Linked DNA regions of Homo sapiens: all the other regions are linked to region 1. Evidence: promoter capture Hi-C in 16 types of primary human blood cells and fetal thymus (Javierre and others, 2016). All regions are on one chromosome and are shown on one strand. Each heading gives the region's core, a stretch centred on a gene start or on the middle of the fragment in contact. The rest is flanking DNA. Distances are from core to core; before and after follow the strand shown.

Region 1 (2,700 bases), core at 25-2,524:
CATATAGTGCTCTCAATACTGGAAGATATTTTACACTTCTTAGAAATACTCTTCCCTTCCTGGACTCCTTAGCAAACTCTTACTACTCAAGATTCAGCCCACACATCTCTCATCTATTCGGTCACTTACTCATCATCCAACGTTTTTTTTAACACTCGCTGTAAATGGCATCCTCGTTCTGGAAACGCATCTACCAGCAATTAAAACATGTAGAATTAGCACTGCTTAGGAGAACGCCTATAAAATATGCATCTTAGATCATCTTCCGTTTTAGAAAATTGATCCCACCTGCTACACGCCTGGTGAAACTCCAGTTACTTGCCAGTAAGATATTGTCCCCCAAATGTACTTATCCTGTTTTTGTGCATTATAAGCTTTGTTCAGTTTATAGTTTCTAGGCCCATTACTAAAGTCAAGTCAGATATCCAGCTGAGATACAACTTTTTTTTCTGAAAACAATGTGAGCAATGGACAGGTACGCTGTGATTAAAGGGAGAAAAGCTGTAACGACTCCCCAAATTTCCTTTCCTTATGAAATTTACGTATGTAACAGGAAGTTAAAAAATAACTACCACTTAATGCATACTGAACAGAATCTTGTTTCAAAGAAAAGATATGAAATATGGAGGCACTTTCACCACACAAATATCCCACTACATATGCTAACTGCAGTATTTATGTTCAAAACTGTAAGAACGTGTCTGATACCCTTTATTAGTTAGGAATTCCTGAAAATGAACTTCTGTGCAAACCTGAAGCTTCAACACGTGTTTTAAAAAGCAGTGCTTATTGAATTGATAAACAAAAGCGAAACTGGCAATATCAACGTGTGCTCACCTCACAAATCTGACAACAGTATCTCTACACTGCCGTTCTTTAAACATCATTAAAAGATATTGTGAATAGTTTAAATATTAAAAATGTGGAATATAAGAACGATTCTATATATTTGAACACACATTTATATTCAAATATTCATATGAATAAAAATGCTTAAAACTACCCCTTGGGTAACTAAGTATAACAACATAAACTTGCGATTGCAAATTTTATGGCTCTTACTACAAAACAAAAAGTAGAATGAAAAGACCACTTATCTTTAGAGGACAAGCATGAACTTGTTTTCTAACAGCATAACAATAAACGTATTTATTTCTCCGAGCTTTCAAAGGCATCAACAGAAGGGAATCACTAAAAATGTAGGGGAAAAGAAACACTCGGCTGGAGCTTTGGTTTCTAAGCAGATCCTTCTGGAAAGACGCTTAGGGAGAGTCTAGGGAGCAGCTCTGACGTCAGTAGCTGCCATCGGAAGTCAGGTCATGTTCTACAAAAAGCAGTGACGCACGCCCGACAGCACCCGCGGGGCCGGACAGCGGCTTCACCAGCCCCGCGGGTCCGAATCGCACGCGGCCGGGTCCGCTCTCCCGGGAGGAGAGCCCGGCGTGGACCAGCGTGACGACCCCAGCGTGCTGCGGCCTCTCCCCGAGGGCCCCTCCACAAGGGTCCCTGCGCGGGCCGGGCTCGGCCGTTGCCACTCGGGACAGCCATCCCCTCGAGTTCGCGCTCGCCGTCCCCGCCTTCACCTCCCGGGTTGGGAGGCGGGCGACTGCGCGCGAGGTAAAGGAACTTGCGTTCCCCGGCGCCGAGGCGGCAGCAGCGCAGTGCACAGCGGCTTCTGAAGGCGGCGTCGACGGGGAGCTGCGCGTGGCTCCCAGTTTCCTGGTTACGTGCGCGCCGGCAGAGCCAAAACCTGCAGCCGAAACTCCCGCTTCTCCGTAAGGATTAAAGGGCGGGCGCACTACCGGGAGACGTGTCAAACTCAGCGCGCCTCATGGCGGCCGCGGAGCCCCACCCGCTCCTACTCCAGTCCTCTCACGCCCACTGACTTACCCTGCGCACGCGCGCTGAGGCTCCGTGGGGCCGCCGCGGGCCCCGCCCCGAGGTGGGAGGGCCTGACGCATCCACAGCTGGCCAATCGGCGGATGGCCTCGCGCGCCCGCCCCCTCCCCCTGCCCCCGGCGCCGGGCTCCACGTGCCAGTGTTTGTGTACGTGCGGCCGTGGCGGGGCTGGACAGGGTCCGGGTCGTTGAGGATTAGGCTGCTCGGGCGTAACCGGAGCTGGGGCGCGGCTGCCAAGGGCCGGCCCGGAAGTCCCAGCGGTCTTTAAATTCTCCCGTGCTAGGGCCAGCCTGCGCATTCTTACCTGTCGGGGTGCGGCGAGTGTCTCACCTCTCTGCACTTCCAAGGACTCTTGTCATCTGCCTTAGGCGGGAAATGCTGTTGCTGGATTGCAACCCCGAGGTGAGATTCGGGCTCACAGAGCCCGAGCTTTTGTCCTGCAGGCTCAAGCTTCTAGATTCGTCTTCTCGTTAATGCGGGGACGGACCACTGGGCGCTGCCTGGTCAGAGCTGGTTGTGAAGGGCGGGGAGGTTTCCAGCCCGGAGGGGCGCGGGACTGGACAAAGGTGGGAAGGGTGCTGGATCTGTTCTCTTCCTGCAGGTGGATGGTCTGAAGCATTTGCTGGAGACAGGGGCCTCGGTCAACGCACCCCCGGATCCCTGCAAGCAGTCGCCTGTCCACTTAGCCGCAGGAAGCGGCCTTGCTTGCTTTCTTCTCTGGCAGCTGCAAACGGGCGCTGACCTCAACCAGCAGGTAACTAGGTAACTGTTGCTGTGTACAGCCGTCCCCTCCAACCCAGA
Region 2 (2,700 bases), core at 118-2,617, 150 kb before region 1:
TAAAATTCTATACCTCCGCCTAGAGGAAACCACTTTTAAAAGTGTCTGTGCTTGCAAACATTTTCCCATCATAGAAAACTTTCCATGAAGGTATATATGTATCCCTAAAGCATTCTTTTTAATGGTATACCAATAATTTATTTAACTCTTTGACTATTGACGTATATATAAAAACTTGCGTTACTTCCAATTTTTTTTGCCCCTATAATTAATATAGCAGTAAAATTCCTTATACATGTACTTTTTTGGATTTCCATTGGGCAGAGTCCTAGGAGTGGCATTGCAGAATAGAAAGTCCTTTAGGCCGGGTGCGGTGGCTCACGCCTGTAATCCCAGCACTTTGGGAGGCCGAGGCAGGTGATCACATGAGGTCAGGAGTTCGAGACCAGCCTGGCCAACATGGGAAAAACCCATCTCTACTAGAAATAAAAAATTAGCTGGGTGTGGTGTCGTGGGCCTGAAGTCCCAGCTACTCTGGAGGCTGAGGCAGGAGAATCACTTGAACCTGGGAGGCGGAGGTTGCAGTGAGCTGAGTGGTTGCAGTGAGCACCACAGCACTCCAGCCTGGGCAACATGTGAGACTCAAAAAAGTCCTTTAAAATTTTGATATATGTGGCTCAGTTGCCTTCTTAAAAGCTTGTAGAAATAGATATTTCCCCCAACAATATATGAAAACAACCATTTCCCTGTGTCCTGGTGAACATTAGATAGGTATGTCCTTTCTGCTGCTTTGGCAGTCTGATGGTATCTCATTGCTCTAATTTGCATTCCTCTAATAAAAAAGGGGATTGCATTTTTTTGTCATACATTTATTGGTCATTTGTTTATCTTTTATGATTTCCCTTTCAACTTCTTTGGTTTTCTTTTGAGTTATTTTCTTATTTTTGGAGTCTCTGTATATTTAATGATAGTTCTTTGTTACATTGTTACAGATACTGTCTCCTAGTCTATCATTTACATTTCGATTGCATCATCTTTTGTGAAACAAGAATTTTGTATTTTAGGTAGTCAGATTTGTCATTTTTTCCCCCTTCATACCATTTGGATTTTGTGTTTTATTTTAGAGAAGCCTTTTCCATTCCAAGATTATAAAAAGCTGCTCCCTTATTTCTTCTTAATTCTTTTTTAGCTTAAAACATGTTTAGCTGTTTAATCTTTTTGGAGTTATTTATATACAGAATGTAAGACCGTAACCTTTTATTCCCATGTGAATATCAAATTATTCCAACATCATTTGCTGAGTAGTGTGTGGTTTTTATCATTAATTTCAAATTCTTCTTAAGAAAATTATGTTCTTAATTTGCACATATATAGCTACATCGGTTTGTTTACTCCCTACCATTGTGTTGATTTATTTATTCCTATACAGTCATTATACTGTTTTGATATCTGGTAGGGAAAATCCTTCCTTAATTTTTTTTCCAAAAAATTTTAACCTTAAGCATTTATTTACTTTTGTGGAAAAACTTCTGTTATTCGTTAAGCCTTATCTTAATGCTTGTTTAGATGGCATTTCATACCTTTGATTTTTTTTTTTTATGTGATTTATTCATTCAGTAATCTGCTTTGTATTTTTTTCCTTTCATTTCAGAGTCCTGTGTATGGAAACTCACATGAGTCAGCTCAGTCTAGAAGGGTAGTAATTTCTCATAATATGGATAAAGCTCTGAAAGAAGGTAAGGATTAAATGAGAGTATATAATTACCATGTAAAGCAATTCATTATGTTCTAAGAGGAAAATAATAATCTCCAGCAAATTTATTCTTCTTGTCTGCATGTAGTGTTAGGAATTTTTTCTTCATGAGTTTGTATTTGATGACTAAATACATCCATGTTTTGTTTGCATGTAAGGGATTTACACGTTTGTTGAGTAGGAATTTCCAGATCATGTGAAACTAGCCAGCCATGTAGAGCTAGTTCCATCATATGAAGCACAGATCTGTTCTCTCTTTTCTAAAATGGGTTTTAGGAATTTTTTTTTTCTTCTAACTATAACCTAGAGAAGCTATGTTGGGATAAATAGACTCAGGCTCACTCATAGATAAACCAGTTAAACCCAACTAAGTGATAGTAGTCTTTCAGAGGAGTGAGTTTACAATGAAGCTTGTCTTGAAGAAGGCAGAAGCAGGGTGGTGGAAGGTAAAATATGGCTATGTCTGGAAGTGGGAATAAATAAGTGTACTTTTAAATATTAAAATTTTAAAAAATATATTTTGAACATCAAATTAAGGTTTAAGAAAGATTTTAAATATCAAATTTCTAAAAACATTGACAGTTTCAGTTAATTTTCAGAAAACAAGTCATGAGTTTATCAGGTGAATATATGATGTTAGACGTGAAGTTAAGAGAGCTGAACAAGTGATATGTACATATATGTGTTTTACTCATCATAGTTCACAAAAATCACCATATCAAAATCTGAAAATGAGAGTACTGTATCAGTACAGAAACAGTTTGAAATTGTGTGGATTCACAGAATTTTAGACCTTTGGGGACATAATTAAATTTTAAAAAATACTTCTATTAGTAGTTAAGGTACAACTTATAAAACTTACTGGATTTAAAATTTGGCAATTATTCATAATCTTTAAAGTATGACTTATAAAACTTACTGGATTTAAAATTTGGCAATTATTCATAATCTCATAATCATGATTTTTAGAGTACAGGATTGGCTGGATGTGGTGGCTCATGCCTGTA
Region 3 (2,700 bases), core at 130-2,629, 230 kb before region 1:
AAGGAGGCAACATTAGTTTAAAAAATAACTGAACAAGAATCTGGCCTAATAACCAGACCTCGGATTAGCATACTTTCTAGTTATAGATGTAAATCTTCAAAGTACATATATTCAGTACAAGTCAAAAAAAAAATAAAATAAAATAGTGCCAGACCATCCTTTACTTTTTCATGTCCTTGAAATGAGAAGAGTAATGTACTTAAGTAATTCCTTCTTAAGAATGTCCCTTAAACTATAACAACTTCATAGCATCTTGACTTAGAATATACCACATTTTCCAAGTCCTATTTGTCTATTTATATTCATTATATATAAGTAACCATGACAACAGAATTGAAGTTCCGCTTAAAAGACTCTTGCCCTTTCCAACTTTTACTTTAAGTTGGATCCCTGTTATCAGTAATACTTAGATGAACCTCCCCTTTCAAAGTAGTAAAAACTAAAGCATTAAATTAGTACCTAAAATCAAAGTACAGTTGTTATTTATAAAACTATTGTGTTGTATCCTGACATGTGGCAACAAAGATAATATAAAATGTACTCAGAGACTAATGCCATTATGAACAGAAAAGACTATATATAAATATATAATCTTTATATATATATAAAAATCTTTTTTAAAAGATTTTTAAAATAAAATTTATAAAAAAGATTTTTTATATATATAAAAAGATTATATATATAAAACATATATATATATTTTTTTCTGGAACAACTTAAAAATCAATTTTAAAAAAACTGATTAATTCACTATTGGACAGATGTTCAAATGCTAAATTTAAAATTCAGCATTATCTTCTCTCTCTTGAAATATAGGTTATATAAACAGTAAAAGTACAGTAAGTTAAAAAACAAAAGAAAATAAAGCCTTGGTTTAGTATAGCTCAAGCTTATATACACAGCAGGTATAGTAACTTGTTCACCAGAACAGAGCATCGAATAACATTGAATGAAAATTATGGCCCCCAAAAGCAGAACCTCAAAGCCAGGTTGTGGCCAGGTGAATTATTTAACCTCACTGTGCCCATGTTCACAGGCCTGATCCTTAACAAAATCTATGAATACAAACTAAATCCAAGACATGTTGAATTGATGTTTTGTAAAATGCAGTAACACCTTACTGTTAAAGGTGCTAAGGAAAAAAGCATTCAGCATACATGCTACAGAGCCTGAGCACTGAAAAATGAAAATCTTATTGTGGCTACAGATCAAAAATTCATACTGAAAAAGATATTTGTCATTTAACATGGAACCTTTCCAATACATTTTAAGGGCATACTGAAAAGGCTAGTAGTGAAAAACGGCGGTAACAATGAGATAACATACTTTGTTATATAAAAGCCTAAGTTTCATAGAAAAAAAATTCTAATTTGAAAAGTCAACAACATTAAACCCTATCTGCCATTACCAATTCCATCAAGATTACTAGGTCTTTAAATGTGGGACTGGTAAAAATAATACTTCCAGGGTTCAATCAAATAAATCAAAGTAAACCAAAACAAGAAAATTAGCTAATACTTAAAGCAGCAGCCTCAACAAATGTGTGATTTATTTCCCTTTTTGTTCAAATTTTAGTTTTTTCAGGCCTTATAAATACTTGCTGGAATTTCTAAAGCATTTCTTTCTTACGCTAAGTCTTCTCTAATAACATAATAAATACTGAATTACCTAAAACACTGTCCGACACACCTCAGGATCTGCTTCTCGGCTCTTCATGCTGATAGTGCCATTTTACTGATTCAACAAATACTTGGTTTGCAACTGATGTGGTCCTTAAACTATTCACGAGTTAGAAGACTAGCTCTAAAACCTACCTCATTTCTAAGAGTCATAAATAGGACTTTACCTGAATGCATGAAAACACAAAAGGGAAGCTTCTAAGTTGAACTTTCTAATATTCATATTTGAAATGGTTTGGAATGATTGATCAAACTTTTAAGATCTAACTCAGTGCACTTATACAACAACTAGATACCTCTGGTGAATTACAAGAATTGCTCCAATAGAAGCGTCTCTCAATCTGCTCATCAAATCTAGATCAGCTCTACCAGTGAAAACAAATTTCAAGATTTGTTTCATAATAAGTGTTAAATCTCATACAATCGAGCTATGTCATGCCACATAAGTTCTAAAGCAAATGAAAAACAAAGCCAGCCAAATTTAGGAGCTGAGCTCATGGTATAACACTTATAAAGAAATGAAAATAACACAAATTGAAAACTATAGTGACCATCTTGGGTACGACATGCAATGATACTATCACTACTATTTTGACAGCATGACAACTGAATAATTAGAAGATACACATGCATACCACTATTTCTCTATTAAGAACACATACATCTCATATAAATACATCCTCAGGAAACACTTTTTACATTAAATCGTTTTTTGACAATAATTTTGCACTGAATAACAATACATTACAACTCACTGTTGTACACCTTCAATTGCTAAAACGGTATTCTAGATGTTTACACAGAGAATTATAGGAATATGCACGAGCACTTCAAGAAAAGTTGTGTGAACAATGTTTAAAGTAAAAAAGTGTTTTATAACCAAGCTGTACGGACATTAGGGGGTTTAGGTCTTCTTCGAGGGTGGCCACTGGAGGGGTCAACCGCTGATCGCTCACTCCTACAACTGAGACCACTCGTAGCACTGGATGTCCTGGAAGCTCCTGAAAATATAAAAAGAAGA
Region 4 (2,700 bases), core at 71-2,570, 200 kb after region 1:
GGGAACACAAGCATACCATCTCGTGGACCCACAGGAGGGTTATAGATGGGTCCTTTTCACTGCAAAAGAAGCTTATGTTTTGCTTTGGCTCTGGAAGGCCATTCGGGGGAGTCTAAGAGTCTCTACAAATTGGCATTTCTGTCTCTATGGCAACACAAAGCTCTGCCTCAGCAACAAAATGAGGTCTTCCTATGCAATGCAAAAAGCACAAAGTGGCATGAATGCAGAATAATATCGACTTTTCTTTAGAAATAAAAAATGAAGACTTCTGTGAAATCAAGCCCTTGAGAACTTCTTGAAATGCAGAAGCACGGCCATGCGATAGGCCAGTCAAGGTTGAATCCGGGTCCATTAAAACAGAAATGAGGAAAGGAATCCTGACTTATGTCCAGATGAAAATTTCCAAACTCCTTGGCTGCATTCCTTAGAATTGATAGTAAGTACCATTTAGAGTCCATGTATTTTAAAGTACTGTAGATACTATGGAACGAAGTAGCTAAGGGAAAGTAATTTGACCTTTAAGTTCAATCAGAGCTGGCAAGAAATAGGAAGTGGATAGAATCCAGACAGCAGTATGGGGACAAAAGGCAGACTGAGAGGATGTAGTGCACATCACCAGAGAAACAGAAGATGTTAGACAAGAATCATGGATTTAAAAAAAATCCAAATTGAATGACACAGAAGCAAACATGACCGGAAGTGTGTGAGTTCGGCACTGTAGATGCTTGGCAACAGTTTTTTCTTTGCAGGAGAAACGGTGACTAGAAAGCAGTGATTTAGTGTAGAACCATGAGACAGATGTAGACCACAAAACACACGACACTCTTATTTGTAGAGTAGAGAATCTGACCATGTCTTTGTGGAGTTTGGAAACCTCACACACACCTAAAAGGGAAGCACATCACCAGGTGGTCGCTTCATCTTCAGGGTGTCTCCAGCCTCACTTTAAGGCCAGTTCACAGCAAAGACAACTAAGGAAGAGCCAGCCCTGGGGGCGGGGGAGGTGGCCAGGATGCCTGCCACAAAGTGGGGGCATGCTGACCCTACCCTGTGGGAACCGCTGAGCCCTCTGACAGGTGAGCCGCAGAATCTCCTAGACATCACTGGGCTACGAGGAGGCTTACCCAGGACACATATCTCGCTTTTTACGTCAGCCTGGAAAATGTACAAGAAGTTAGTTAGCTCTCATCTTCGTCACACAGACTTCAGGAGGAGCTTTCCTGGCTGGCTTTTTCCATGCACACACAGCATGCCAAACTCCTGCACAACAGCAGGGCAGGGAGGGTCCACAGCTTCTCCAGCTGCTTATACAGTTTCCACACCACAGGCACCAGCTGCCATCTTAACATGGCACCCACAGGCACAGCAGAAAAAGGTTCACAGAGGAAAGCTGGCATAGGGAAGAGGCCAAGAACATATAAGAAATGTTATATCTTTTTTTGTCTTTTATTTTTTTGAGACGGAGTCTGGCTCTGTCGCCCAGGCTGGAGTGCAATGGCACAGTCTCGGCTCACTGCAACCTCCATCTCCCGGGTTCGAGCGATTCTCTTGTCTCAGCCTCCCGAGTAGCTGGGATCACAGGCACCCGCCACCAGGCCCAGCTAATTTTTGTATTTTTAGTAGAGACAGGATTTCACCATGTTGGTCAGGCTGGTCTTGAACTCCTGACCTCAAGTGATCTGCCTGCCTCGGGCTCCCAAAGTGCTGGGATTACAGGTGTCAGCCACTGCGCCCGGCCAAGAAATGTTATGTCTTTCATAGAATGCTTAGCAATTGGGTTCAAGATGCTCTCAAACCTGCCCTGCTTTTTCATCTTATTGAAGGGATGCAAGGTGAGATAGAGGAGAATTTGGCTTAATGCCTGTCAAATTTCATGGACTGTATCAGACATTTGTTGGAGGCAAAATTTTCTAACACATAAGAAGAAAATAAGGCCTTTTTGGGGGGAAACATGGTGAAATTTGATGAACTACTGAAGTGCCAACCTGTGGGCTGGACTGTTTTGGTGTTTTTTTTTTATTTTCAGAGTAAGATCTTTCATATGACAGTGAGTAAGCTGACCTTCTTTTGTGTAGGTTTTATTTTCCTTCCAATAGCGGACAGGATCTGGCAGTGTACTGCCTGGTATTTGATCTGGCTTAAGAGAACTTCCGGAGGAATAAAACACGCTTAAATAAAAGCATGTGGTTTTCTCAACTCTCATTTAGAAAAGTTTTCCTAATTCTCAGTAATGATTGACCTCAAATCCCCAGCCTCTCGGGATGAAATGTGTTTGGCACCGTTGCTTAAGTGTCGTGGCAGACGATGCTTGATGCTCTCCACATCCATTCTCTTCTTGGTCCTCAGTAATGGGGCCAGGCTGTTGGGTAGGCACATGGCCATTCTGGATAAAGACCACATTTCCTGACTTGTAGCTGGATGTACTCATGTCATAAGCTGAGACCGAGGGGATATATGCAATTCTGGGACTTGGCCTTCAAGGGAGAAGGTGTAATCTCCCATCTTTTCTCCTTCCTGCTGGTTCGTGTGAGAAGGGAACTACTCGAGCTGCCACCTGGGACCCATAGCGGAAGCTTCTCTCTGAGGATGGCGATGAGCCCACATCAGATGGAAACTCCTGGGTTCTCTGATGACTGCGGGGCCACCATACCAGTCCCGGACACCCTTCATTTATGTGTAAGAGCAATATATTTCTACGTT
Region 5 (2,700 bases), core at 83-2,582, 130 kb before region 1:
GTATCAGTATATGCATAAAGGCTTATTCTAAAAATTTCCTTTCATGTTGCTGGCTTTACACATTAGGATAGAATTCCTTCAGGTTGTACAAGACAGAGGAAACCTTTCTTTTCTAGCGTTATACACTCTAGAAACTAGTTTCAGTCTCCAGTGCAAAATAAATTTCAGTTAACACCTGAGAGGCATGGGTCCTAAAGGTACTAATATGCACTAGTTTCATTTCCTGTGCAGTACCTAGTATGTTTCTCTCCCTCTGCTTCATGTTTTTTCTCATTGTTAGCTACTAGTTACTGTAAAAATCTCTTATACTTTGCCTCCTCATCTAGAACATATTAGAAAACGCAGCATCCCAGGCTTTCTTGAATCACTATCAAGATACTATGGGAAGGGAAGTATAGAAAGTTCTGTTTTCCAGTCCTCTTCACTCAGATCCTCCAAATTAATGTTCCTGGGATGGAGTCAGTACAGGGAAGTGCACAACCAAGGTTGTCAAGACTGGTTGAAAAATACTTTGGAGCCTCACAGAAGGCAATTTGCCATCAAATTAGATAACGTCGAGTTTATAGACCCTCTAGCTCACTAGAAATACCTGTAGACTTTTTATCCTATTATCTCCCAGTCAGAAAGCAGGCTGGCAACCCTGGTTTATGCTTTGTTAGGTTTTTTTGAAAAATGAAGCTGCAGGTCATATTTAAGAAAACATCTAGAAGACTTAAAAATTACTAAATAAATACTCGTACCTTTTTAGATTGTTGCTGTGATTTTGGAGTTATATAGACCCTTTGATGCTACTGAAGTTCGTTGTTATGATTTCATTTGAAATCCAAAAAAGGCCATGCATTTGCATTTATTCTAGCAAAAGTTTTCCAGATGAGTTGATGGTTGAGGAAATTTGATTATTTAGGAGATGGCAGTTACTATAACCAATGTGTTTCTCATTTGAAATATTTTTTACCTAATAGTACATAATTGAATTGTTTCTAGAAACTTCTTTCCTTCTTTTTCACTCTCTTTATTTAGACATGAAGAACAGCCAAGACCTTTTGTGTTGCACGCATGCTTGAGGAACTCAGATGATGAAGTAAGATTTCTACAAACGTGTTCTCGGGTTCTGGTGTTTTGTCTCCTCCCCTCAAAGGATGTGCAGTCTCTCAGCTTACGTATAATGCTTGCAGAAATTCTCACAACAAAAGGTAGACTTATACAGTTGATTTCACTAATTCAATAAGTGTGCAAACTAATGTGCTACATGCAGACCTTGTTTACTGTTGAACATATGGGATTTGAAGTATTTTCAAAATCTTGTTTATATGTCTCTAAAACTATTTGGCCATTCAGGATAAACTTAAATTTTTAATATGACATATCGCCAAATGCACAGTCCATTAAGTTGCATGTTTTGACATAGAAAACAAGTTTTTATGCTCTTCACAGGGAAGCATTCATTTGGGATAGCTTTTGAGTTATCTAGGCCAATAATATATACATTAATGAAAGTATGTGTATGTGTGTATAATATCTATATAATATCCATAGTATGTATGTTTATATATTACGTGTGTGTGTGTGTTCAAATTCTTTTTTTTTTCTTTAAATAGAGATGGGGGTCTTACTATGTTGCCCAGGCAAGTCTTGAACTCCTGGGTTCAAGTGATCCTCCCACTTAGGCCTCCCAAAGTGCTGAGATTACAGGTGTGAGCAACCATCCCTGACCACAGTCAAATTCTGATTAGCATATTTACTTAAAATATCTTTGCTATATGATTTGTTGATAATGCGTATACAGTAATGCATTGCTTAACAACAGGGATGTGTCCGAAGAAATGTGTCATTAGACAATGTCATTGTGCAAATATCATAGAGTGTACTTACACACCTACATGGGATAGCCCACTACACATGTGGGCAATATGGTGTAACCTATTGCTCCTAGACTATAAACCTTATACCATATTACTGTACTGAATACTGTAGGCAATAGTAACACAATGATATTTGTGTATCTAAGTATAGAAAAGGTACAGTAAAAATATGGTATAAAAGATAAACAACAGTACACCTATATAGGACACTTACCATGAATGGAGCTTGCAGGACTGGATGTTGCTCTGAGTGAGTGGGGAGTGACTGTGAAGGCCTAGGACATGACTGTGCACCACTGCAGACTTCATAAACAGTGTACGCTTAGGCTACACTACATTTATTTAAAATTTTATTTTCTTCAATAAATTAACCTTAGCTTACTATAACTTTTTTTACTTTATGAACTTTTAATTTTTTTAAACTTTTTGACTCTTTTGTAATAACATTTATCATCATTATCAAGTATGCACTGTACATAATTGTATGTGCTGTATTTTTATACTATTGACAGTGCAATAGGTTTCTTTACACTAGCTTGACCTCATTAAATGGTAGAAAATTTTCAGCTTCATTATAATCTTATGGGGGCCACTGTCATATAGTCAGTCTGTTGTTGACCAAAATGTCATTATGTGGCGCATGACTGTACATAATTTTGTGAACTTGGAATATGTAAAAAGGAACTGTACCACAATATAATGTGATTACTAGAAAAAAGTTAACTATATCCAGGGAAATGCTTAGTCAGGATAAGAGAAACTTTCCCTATCTCAGTCTCAGACAAATAGCATTGCATTTGAGATGCAGTGATTATCTCATTTACTATCTCAGGATAAG
Region 6 (2,745 bases), core at 160-2,659, 170 kb before region 1:
CTCCTGTGAAGGCAGCATCTTCTTTTTTCTTGTGGCTTCTCTCCATCTGGCTCAGACTGGCTGCTGGGATCAAGCCAGGACTTTCTCTAGTCCCCAACCTTGAGCTGCTACACATAAGCCACCTCCCACAAGGCCTCTTCCTCTTATGTAAATCAACTCATAAAAATATATACCCGAGGGCTGCTTGCAGGCTGCCAATTTGTTATACATGAAATTAACATCTTAACTGTTCCAGATATTTCCATGTGTTTTTCCTGAAGCAGAGTTGTTAATCTTTTTTTTTTTTTTCTGATTTTTTTCCATTTCACTGAACCTTTCTTTTTTTCTGAAACTGCAACCGCTAGATAGCTCAGAAAGTTGGATGTTTCCCAGATTTGCATTTGGGTCATTCTTGAGGTCTCATTCTTCATTCTGTTACTTTAGGGCAGTCTCAACTTTGGCCTCCTACAATAATCATCCCTGTCTATATTGAGGACTTAAGAGATTTATTCCTGAGGTTCAGATCTAGTTTTGGGCCTCAGACTTATTTATTCAACTGCTTAACTTGACATTTCCACCTGGCAGTCCCAGTGGTACCCGAAGCTTGAGTCTGTGACATCTTATGACCAGTGTCTGTCTCTGTTCCTCTTGTTTCTTTTTTTTTCTTTAAATTTTATTAGTATTATACTTTAAGTTTTAGGGTACTTGTGCACAATGTGCAGGTTTGTTACATATGTATACATGTGCCATGTTGGTGTGCTGCACCCATTAACTCGTCATTTAGCATTAGGTATATCTCCTAATGCTTGTTCCTCTTGTTTCTGTGTCAGTGAATAGCACCTCTGAAAGTCAGGTCCCACAACTGAGTCCCTTTTTTTTTTTTTTTTGAGATGGAGTCTCGCTCTGTCACCCAGGCTGGGGTGCAGTGTGCGATCGCGGCTTACTACAACCTCTGCCTGCCAGGTTCAAGCAATTCTCCTGCCTCAGCCTCCCAAGTAGCTGGGATAAGGGTGCCCACCACCACGCCTGGCTAAATTTTTGTATTTTTAGTAGAGACGGGGTTTCACCATGTTAGCCAGGATGGTCTCGATCTCCTGACCTTGTGATCCGCCCACCTCGGCCTCCCAAAGTGCTGGGATTACAGGCGTGAGCCACTGCGCCCGGCCTAACTGAGTCCTTCTTGACATCTTCTCCTTATACCCCATAGGCACTCCATCAAGTCCTGTCCTTTTACCTCTTTTGTTAATTTTATTTATTTATTTATTTTTGAGACAGGGTGTCACTCTGTTGCCTAGGCTGAAGTGCAGTGGCACAATCATGGCTCACCGCAGCATCAGCCTCCTGGGCTCTTGTGATCCTCCATGCCTCACTCCCCCGCCAATGGCTGGGACTACAGGTGGGTGCCACCACACCCAGCTAATTTTTTTTTTTTTTTCTGAGACAGGATCTGGCTCTGTTGCCCGGGCTGGAGTGCAGTGGCATGATCTTGGCTCACCGCAACCTCCACTTCCTGGGCTCAAGCCTTCCTCCCACTTCAGCCTCCCAAGTAGCTGGGTCTAAGGATGCATGCCACCGCACTCAACTAATTTTTGTATTTTTTGTAGAGACAGGGTTTCACCATGTTGCCCAGCCTGGTCTTGAACTCCTGAGCTCAAGCCATTAATCTGCTTTGGCCTCCCAAAGTGCTGGAATTACAGGTGTGAGCCACTGTGCCTGACCCGGGCTAATTAAAAAAGTTTTTTCTAGAGATGGAGTCTCTCTGTGTTGCCCACGCAGGTCTCAAACTCCTGGACTCAAGCCATCCTCCCACCGTGGCCTCCCAGAATGTTGGATTACAGGGGTGCCTGCCCTTATTTCTTGAGTATCTTGCATTCATCTACTTCTTTCAGTCTTTCCTGCTTGGTCTTAGCTACCGTCATGTCCCACCTAGATGACTGTAACAACCTTTCAATTGGTCTCTGCCTCCATGTTGGCTCCCTCTTCCATTGATTCTTTTGAAAATGCAAGCCTAATCAAATTCCTCTTCAGCAGCATGTTTGTTTAAAATCTTTCAGTAACTTCCTGCTCTTCCTAGCTCTCTAGCCTAATCTCCAGTCATAATTACCCTCACTCCTCATGCTCCACCCTCAGTCCTCATAGTGCCGGGCTTTTTCTGTCTGTAGGGACTTTATATATTGTTCTCCTGCCTTGAGCATGCTGCTGCCCCCTTTATCTAGTTAACTTCTCTTTCTTTATACCACAGTCATCAGTTTTGCAGGGAAGCTTTTCCTATCTTTCAACTTACATATTCTTATAGCACCATATACTTCTCCTTCACTGTAGATATATAGCACCATATACCCCTCCTTCACGGTAGGAATATAGCGCCATATACCCCTCCTTCATGGTAGATATATAGCACCATATATCCCTCGTTCACTGTAGGTATACAGCACCATATACCCCTCCTTCATGGTAGGTATATAGCGCCATATACCCCTCCTTCACGGTAGATATATAGCAGATATATAGCACCATATACCCCCCATTCACTGTAGGTATACAGCACCATATACCCCTCCTTCATGGTAGGTATTCAGCTCCATATAACCCTCCTTCATGGCAGGTATTCAGAGCCATATACCCCTCCTTCGCGGTAGGTATACAGCACCATATACCCCTCCTTCGCGGTAGGTATACAGCACCATATACTCCTCGTTCACTGTAGGTATACAGCACCATATAACCCTCCTTCATGGCAGGTATTCAGTGCCATATACCCCTCCC

What was found. The method cuts DNA at HindIII sites, captures the fragments that hold promoters and counts their contacts. A CHiCAGO score of 5 or more calls a contact.
Region 2: a fragment that was not itself captured here is called in contact with the fragment with the promoter of LRP2BP in region 1 in 1 of 17 cell types (activated CD4 T cells); the score reaches 5.1 in activated CD4 T cells.
Region 3: a fragment that was not itself captured here is called in contact with the fragment with the promoter of LRP2BP in region 1 in 1 of 17 cell types (endothelial precursors); the score reaches 5.2 in endothelial precursors.
Region 4: a fragment that was not itself captured here is called in contact with the fragment with the promoter of LRP2BP in region 1 in 1 of 17 cell types (endothelial precursors); the score reaches 6.0 in endothelial precursors.
Region 5: a fragment that was not itself captured here is called in contact with the fragment with the promoter of LRP2BP in region 1 in 3 of 17 cell types (naive CD4 T cells, total CD4 T cells and naive B cells); the score reaches 6.9 in naive CD4 T cells.
Region 6: a fragment that was not itself captured here is called in contact with the fragment with the promoter of LRP2BP in region 1 in 1 of 17 cell types (total B cells); the score reaches 6.1 in total B cells.

What each region holds. Positions count from the first base shown.
Region 1 is chr4:185,394,650-185,397,349 of GRCh38, forward strand. It overlaps LRP2BP (LRP2 binding protein), which reads right to left and starts at 1,275. Exons shown (of 9, transcript NM_001377440.1): 1 at 130-1,275. ANKRD37 (ankyrin repeat domain 37) reads left to right here and starts at 2,192. Exons shown (of 5, transcript NM_181726.4): 1 at 2,192-2,301; 2 at 2,501-2,653. The coding sequence starts at 2,275. RefSeq lists silencers at 1,398-1,587, 1,808-2,177 and an enhancer at 1,708-1,777. The HindIII fragment of the contact is 1,591 bases long and covers 757-2,347 here.
Region 2 is chr4:185,245,703-185,248,402 of GRCh38, forward strand. It overlaps SNX25 (sorting nexin 25), which reads left to right. Exons shown (of 19, transcript NM_001378034.2): 2 at 1,592-1,676. Among named protein-coding and RNA genes, the nearest start is that of SNX25, 37 kb to the left of the region's middle. The HindIII fragment of the contact is 1,467 bases long and covers 635-2,101 here.
Region 3 is chr4:185,160,246-185,162,945 of GRCh38, forward strand. It overlaps CFAP97 (cilia and flagella associated protein 97), which reads right to left. Exons shown (of 5, transcript NM_020827.3): 5 at 1-2,680. The coding sequence ends at 2,553. Among named protein-coding and RNA genes, the nearest start is that of SLC25A4, 18 kb to the left of the region's middle. The HindIII fragment of the contact is 985 bases long and covers 888-1,872 here.
Region 4 is chr4:185,598,901-185,601,600 of GRCh38, forward strand. All of the region lies in intron 24 of SORBS2 (sorbin and SH3 domain containing 2), which reads right to left. Among named protein-coding and RNA genes, the nearest start is that of SORBS2-AS1, 12 kb to the left of the region's middle. The HindIII fragment of the contact is 2,502 bases long and covers 70-2,571 here.
Region 5 is chr4:185,263,418-185,266,117 of GRCh38, forward strand. It overlaps SNX25 (sorting nexin 25), which reads left to right. Exons shown (of 19, transcript NM_001378034.2): 4 at 1,021-1,193. Among named protein-coding and RNA genes, the nearest start is that of SNX25, 55 kb to the left of the region's middle. RefSeq lists an enhancer at 2,461-2,700. The HindIII fragment of the contact is 3,072 bases long and covers 1-2,700 here.
Region 6 is chr4:185,219,635-185,222,379 of GRCh38, forward strand. The region is part of intron 1 of SNX25 (sorting nexin 25); the gene reads left to right. Among named protein-coding and RNA genes, the nearest start is that of SNX25, 11 kb to the left of the region's middle. The HindIII fragment of the contact is 1,659 bases long and covers 581-2,239 here.